Linked DNA regions of Homo sapiens: region 1 is linked to region 2. Evidence: promoter capture Hi-C in human tissues and cell types (Jung and others, 2019). All regions are on one chromosome and are shown on one strand. The core of a region is centred on a gene start or on the middle of the fragment in contact, and the rest is flanking DNA. Distances in the headings are between cores, read along the strand shown.

Region 1 (3,138 bases), core at 549-3,048, 91 kb after region 2:
GAGTTTTTAGGACTAAGTTCTAATTTTTGATTTTGCCCAAATTTCTATCTAAGGGATCTAGGGAGTCATGCCCTACAAATCCTAAATTCTCATCAGATGGGTTTTATTTATATATTGTGACTTACTTTTCAATCTGACTCTGGTATAACATTACGAGACAAGGAAAAAATATTTAACCCCAAAATATATTTCCCTGCCATAGCTTGAAATTGCCCTGCAAGTCTCTTGTGGGAAAAATCCACATTCTATAGAGAATCCCCTTGCCCCTTTGTTTTCCTTCCTTCCTTTCCAGATCCAGGAGATAATCAACTAAGAGCCAGGCACTCTTTTAGGTCTAATAAGAAACATTTTACAACCTGCTCTCTCTCTCCTCTCTGTCTGAAGTCTGCTATCTGAGAGATTCCTCTGCACAATAAAACTTGGTTTCCACAATCCTTTATTTTAACCTGAACATTTCCTTTCTATTGATCCCAGATCTTCAGACAAACTCAACCAATTGTCAACCAGAAAATGTTTAAATTTACCTATAGCCTGGAAGTCCCCACTTTGAGTTGTCCCTCCTTTCTGAACCAAACCAATGTATTTCTTAAATGTATTTGACTGATGTCTCATGCTTCCTAAAATATATAAAACTAAGCTGCACCCCGACCATCTTGGGCACATGTTCACATGTTCTCAGGAGCTTCGGAGGGCTGTGTCACGGGCCATGGTCACTCATATTTGGCTTAGAATAAATCTCCTAAAATATTTTACAGAGTTCGACTCTTTTCATCGACAGTGTTGATATGTTGTATTTTTATTTCCATTAGAATATTTCTAATTATCCTCATGGTTTCTTCTTTGAACCATAAGTTATCTAAAAGTGTGTTGTTTGATTTCCAAACATTTGGGGACTTTCCAGATATCTTTCTGTTACTGATTTATAGTTTAATTTCATTATGGTGAGAAAACATACTTTGTATGATTTCAATTATTTTTAATTTGTTAAGATTTGCTTTATGGCCCAGAATATGGTCTATCTTGCTAAAGTTCCATGGGCACTCAAAAAGAATGTGTATTCTGCTGTTGTTGTGCGAAATGTCCTATAAATGTCAATCAGATTGTTGGTTATTAGTGTTATTCAAGTTACCCATACCCAGCCTGATTTTCTGTGTACTCGCTCTACCAAATATTGAGAGAAGAGTGGATGTGTCTATTTCTCCTTTCAGCTCTAACGGTCTCGATTGCATGTACCCTGACTGTGTTCTCCAGTGCACATGCATGGACAGTTATGATGTCCTCTTGATGAATCAACCCCTTTATATACAGTCCTTCTTTATTCCTGGAAATATTCTCTGTTTCTGCTTCATCTGACATTAATATAGACACTTGAGCTTTCTTTGGATTAGTGTTTGCATGGCATGCCTTTTTTCCATTCCTTTGGTTTTAGGCTATCTAGGTCTTTATTATTATTTTTTATTTCTTTTGAGACAGAGTCTCGCTCTGTTGCCCAGGCTGAAGTGCAATGGCGTGATCTCAGCTCACTGCAACCTCCACCTCCCGAGTTCAAGCGATTCTCGTGCCTCGGCCTCCCAAGTGGTTGGGATTACAGGCATGTGCCACCACATCCGACTAATTTTTGTATTTTTAGTAGAGATGGGGTTTCACCATGTTGGCCAGGCTGGTCTCGAACTCCTGACCTCAGGAGATCAGCCCGCCTAGGCCTCCCAAAGTGCTGGGATTACAGGTGTGAGCCACCGCCCCAGCCCTAGGTTTTTATATTTAAAGTGTGTTTCTCACAGACAGCCTGAGGGTCCCGGAAATTTTCTGGAAGTTGCGGCTCCACCCTCAGCTCTCAGCAACCCCTGCTCGCCTGCACTACCTAGGGGATGCGTGGTCTTGCCCTCCTCCTGGTGGTAAATGTCTCTGTGTGCTCTTGCCCGCCCCCTGGTGGTAAATGCCGTTGCTGCTACTCTTGGTTGGGCTAGTAGTGGAGGCAGTTTGTGGACGTGTGTTAAAGGGTTTCCGGACGGTGGGATGTTGCTCCATTCTCCTGGCCCAGCCTCCGCAGAGCCTGTGTACTAGGGTCTCAGAAGGTGGAGTCTTCGAAGTGCTCCTGTCCCTCCTGTCGTGCCTTCTATCTCCTGTGGGTTTAACACAGGAGAGTGCGTCCTGCGCCTCCCACAGGGGCAAGTGGTGTTTACTTTGATCCTGCCCCAGAAGCAGTGGATCTTCGTTTCTGCCTCTCCCGCAGCAGCCCTGGGGCCAGAGAGTGCAGCCTCCCACGTGGTTTTGCCCAGAGAGAATCGTCCTGGGGAAGCAGGTGGGGGTCGCTGCACAGCAGTCAATCACCGCTTGAGTGCTTGTGCCACCAGCAAGGGGGAGGGGTCTCTCCCGGCTCCCCCTCTGCCTCCAGTCTTTTTCCTGCAGTGAAGGCCTGTGCAAAAAGCTCAGAAGGCAGGGCAGACTCCCTCCTGCCCACCACATGCTCTGCCCAAGACAGTTGGTCTTGCCTTTCCTTGGAGGGGCTTGTCACTCTTTGGAATTCAGTTCTCTTGGTTGCCTGCCACCTCAGCTATCTGACTGGTTTAAGAAATTATGGTTTTGCAAATTATCTGGTGTTTTGTTATTGTTAGAGTCGGGGGGCGGGGTGGTTCATTCCTGTACTCCCAGCACTTTCGGGGGTGAGGTGGGTGGACCCTTTGAGCCCTGGAGTTCAAGACCAGCCAGCCTGAGCAACATGGGGAAACCCTGTCTCTACAAAAAAAAAAAAAAAAAAAAAAAAAAAATTAGCCAGACATGGCGACAGGAGCCTGTAGTCCCAGCTACTCAGGAGGCTGAGGTGGGATGATCACTGGAGCCCCCCCAGAAAAGAATGGGAATGATGTTCCCTTGTGGTTTTTCTATATCCTAAGAGGAAATAAAACACTCTTCTCTTTCACTTTTAACATATGCAAATGAGTGACTCTAAATGCCTTCTAGGGCAATGTCTCATGGCTTACAGTGCCTCGTGGTTTTTCTCATTTCTTTCATGATTGCAGCTGTATTTGCTACCACTTGTGCAGCTGACATTTACCAAGCCCTTACTGTGTTCCAGCATGCTTTCATTTAGAACCATCCCTGACTCCTCTTTTCTCTCAAACCCACGTTCAATTTGTC
Region 2 (3,479 bases), core at 320-2,819:
TTCACCATGTTCGTTTTAGAAGCCAGGTTGAATTGAGCCCTCAGATGTTTCCAATTCCCGACCTGATCCTCATCTTCTCAAGGAACAATTGCAGTGAATCCTCAGTTGCCTACGTGGTTAATGTGGAAGAACAGAGACATAGATAATCCTAAATGATGTCTATGTCTCTTGCTCTAAACATTTGCTTTGGAAACTTCTTGCAGACCTTAGAATGAAGCCACCCTAATGTGCAAGGGGCCCCATCCTTACTCCACACCTTCCCTACTCAACGTTGCCCACCTCCCACTCCATGAAGACCTAGGGGCAGTAGATCAAAGGGAAGAGGCTCTTAACTCTCTCCTAGGTTGAGCTAGGGTAGTGGGTAGAGGAGAGAGGCCGATAATAAGGCATTTTGATTTAAAAGGCCTTCTGCAGTGCCGCAGGCAAGCAGAACAGAAACAGTAAATGAGACAATGAATTGTGTCCGTGGAAGACTCCATATGGACAGTGATTCATTATGTTAATAAGGAGGTGAAAGCCAGAGGTTGACTGTATTCTGATTTCATGTCTGGGGAATCTGTAGCTCAGAAGCGGGGAGCATCCAAATTTGAGGTCAGAGTCCAAATTCCAACACCCAGCTCCTGATTCCAATTTGGTTGGTCGAATTACTATCATCTCCTAATGACTAAGGATGCTTTAGAGCCAGATGGGACCTGAGTAGAAGTGCAAGCAATGCTTAAGGTGGAGAAGAGTGATGCTGGAGCCAAGCAGAGCCAACTCCTTGGGTCCATGCAACAAATATTGAGCACCTACCAAGTGCCAAGTGATGGCAGAACTGGCATTGGGAGAGGGAACCACAGAGGAATCTGATGTTGACCCTGGCCTAAAGGAACTCAGGGTAGGAGGTGATATGGGGCAGGCACAAATCTCTGTCATACATACAGAGAGGGAAGTGAGATGAGGTCTAAGACAGCTTCATTTATTCTCCCATTCAATTAAATCATTAACTCAGCTACTCAGGCACGATCGTAAGTGCTCCAAATAAAAAGCTAAACAAAACTGATCTCCACCCCAGAAGCTACCATTCCAATGCTGAAGCTAAGTCACCCCAGGAGGCATATCAAAACACATTCCCCAGCCCCCCAGGCCCCAGCACTGACATACTGATTCTGAATCTTTATAACTGGTACCCAAGACATCTGAAGCCTGGTTTCTAGTTATTCTCCAACTTTGGGCACTGGTCTGGTGGAATAGGGAGGGAGTCCAGCTAAGAGAGTCCAGAGGAAGAGTCAGAGATAGAGAGCAAGGCTTCATGGCCCACCTCTCCCTGGAAGCCCTCCTTGACCAGCACAGCCCACACTGATCCCCATGTCCTCTGAATCCAACCTCCACTGCGTGTTCTGCAGTTTTGCATTTTTCTGTTTGTTGTTGTTTTTTGTTTTTCTTTCTTTCTTTTCTTTTCTTTCCTTTTTTTTTTTTTTTCCAAAACTAGCAGGTTTAATCCCTCTTCTCCTGCTTGTGTCTCATCTCTAAAGGTGGGTGTTCCCGTGTTCCAGGTCATTGTGATGAGAGTTCCAGGGGACTTGTGACACACTGCTGGCCGGCTCTGTTCAAGTGTGGGAGGTCAGGAGCAGCCAGTTCCTCCTGGGAATGCAACCCATCTCCGAAAAGGATTAAGCATCACTAGGGCTCCAAGTGAGTTCTGATCAGAGGCTGTTCGGAAGACAGCAGGGGCCATGACCACCCTCTCTCCTGAAAACAGCCTCTCTGCCAGACAGTCAGCCTCCTTCATCCTGGTGCGTGTTCTTTGTCAGCTCTGAGTGCCTCCCTCCCCAGCCTCTGGTTGGCACTGGGACCATTTTCCCCTGCTGGGTAGGAAAAGCTAGAACCCTGAGCTAACATAGAAGGTGGAGCAAGGGCGGTTGTACCTTACTCTTACCATCAGCCCAAGGACAGGACTGAGACATCCAAGCCCCCTTTCACCTTCTTTCCAAGCCAGCAAAACCTTCTCCACATATGTGCTATTCTAACTTTATTGAGTTGTAGGTTTGCAGGTGCGAACCTGAAGATGCTGATAGATTTTCATCGGTGCTTTTTGCCAACAATTTTGGTATACTGCCACCAGGTGGCAGTAATGCTTTTGTTAGTAGGTAGTTCTAAACCCAGTTTACAAGATACAGCTATTTGTTAGAAGTCGGCTTCAGTCATAAAAATTTTCCACACGGTATTTTTTCAAAATCATAACTAATTACAATAACTTTAGCCAATCTTAAGTCTCATTAATCATAGTGATTAAGAGAGTGATACATAAAAATGCAAAATGGACACTCCTCTCCCTGAGTTTTAAATGTTACTGCTTTATGGCAAATTATCACCAGGCCTTGCTTTAAATTTTCTTTATATCTTTCTCATTTCTCTGAGCTTAGAGAAGGCTAATAAAATAAACTGTCACATAGCATTTATTATGTACGATGAATGTTCTAAATGCTTTATTTATAGTCATTCATTCTCATCACAACTCTATGAAGTGAATAATGCTGTTGTCTTCCTTTTATAAATGAGAACATGGAGCCACAGAGACTTTGTCACTTGCCTACAGTCACACAGCTTGTTAAGTGGCAGAAGTTGTATTTCGACCCAGACAGGTGGGGTGCAAAACTCAGTATTCTCAAAGTGTGGCATCCAAACCTGCAGCATTAGCACCAACTGGGAACTTGTAAGAATGCAGACTCTTGGGCCCCAGATCTTCTGAACCAATAAACTGGAGACGAAGCCCAGAGATCTGTGTTTTTTGTAACTCATCCCTCCAGGGCACTGTGATGCACAATTAGCTTTGTGAACCACTGTTTTAAACCATTTTCTTCATCACGGTGCTGTACTGATGATACACCCTCCACACCTGGGTTGGTAATAATTGCTGAAGTGGGAACCCCTTGTTACGGTTGGGAGTCTATCTTGTCCTCAGGTGAACTGGAGTAGAAAAGAGAACCTGTCCAGGTGCAGTGGCTCACGCCTGTAATCCCAGCACTTTGGGAGGCCGAAGCGGGCAGATCACCTGAGGTCGCGAGTTCAAGACCAGCCTGGCCAATATGGCAAAACCCTGTCTCTACTAAAAAATACAAAAAATTAGCCAGGCGTGGTAGTGAGTCCCTGTAATCCCAGCTACTTAAGAGACTGAGGCAGGAGAATCACTTGAACCAGGGAGGTGGAGGTTGCAGTGAGCTGAGATTGCGCCACTGCACTCCAGCCTGGGCGACAGAGTGAGACTCCATCAAAAAAAAAAAAAAAGAAGAAGAAGAAGAAGAAAGAAGGAAGGAAGGAGGGAAGGAGGGAAGAAGGGAAGGAAGGAAGGGAGGGAGGGAGGGAGGGAGGGAAGCTTAAGCAAAGTCAATGACCTTCCCTGGGCTTTATTGGAGGTTCTGTGGCTATGAGTATTCAGAGAAACTTGGCATTAAAACCCTCATAAAAAGTTTTTCTTGTCCTCCAAAGGCTTTCTTTTT

Evidence for each region. The method cuts DNA at HindIII sites, captures the fragments that hold promoters and counts their contacts. A contact is called where the count stands out against the background at its distance.
Region 1: a fragment that was not itself captured here is called in contact with the fragment with the promoter of TBC1D21 in region 2 in 2 of the 25 tissues and cell types used here (H1 embryonic stem cells and aorta).

Annotation. Positions count from the first base shown.
Region 1 is chr15:73,962,991-73,966,128 of GRCh38, forward strand. No RefSeq gene overlaps it. Among named protein-coding and RNA genes, the nearest start is that of STOML1, 28 kb to the right of the region's middle. RefSeq lists a silencer at 2,936-3,085. The HindIII fragment of the contact is 3,981 bases long and covers 1-3,138 here.
Region 2 is chr15:73,871,995-73,875,473 of GRCh38, forward strand. TBC1D21 (TBC1 domain family member 21) reads left to right here and starts at 1,570. Exons shown (of 11, transcript NM_153356.3): 1 at 1,570-1,775. The coding sequence starts at 1,716. LOC102723657 (a long non-coding RNA gene) reads right to left here and starts at 1,541. Exons shown (of 6, transcript XR_932455.3): 1 at 1,301-1,541; 2 at 1-109. The HindIII fragment of the contact is 7,159 bases long and covers 1-3,479 here.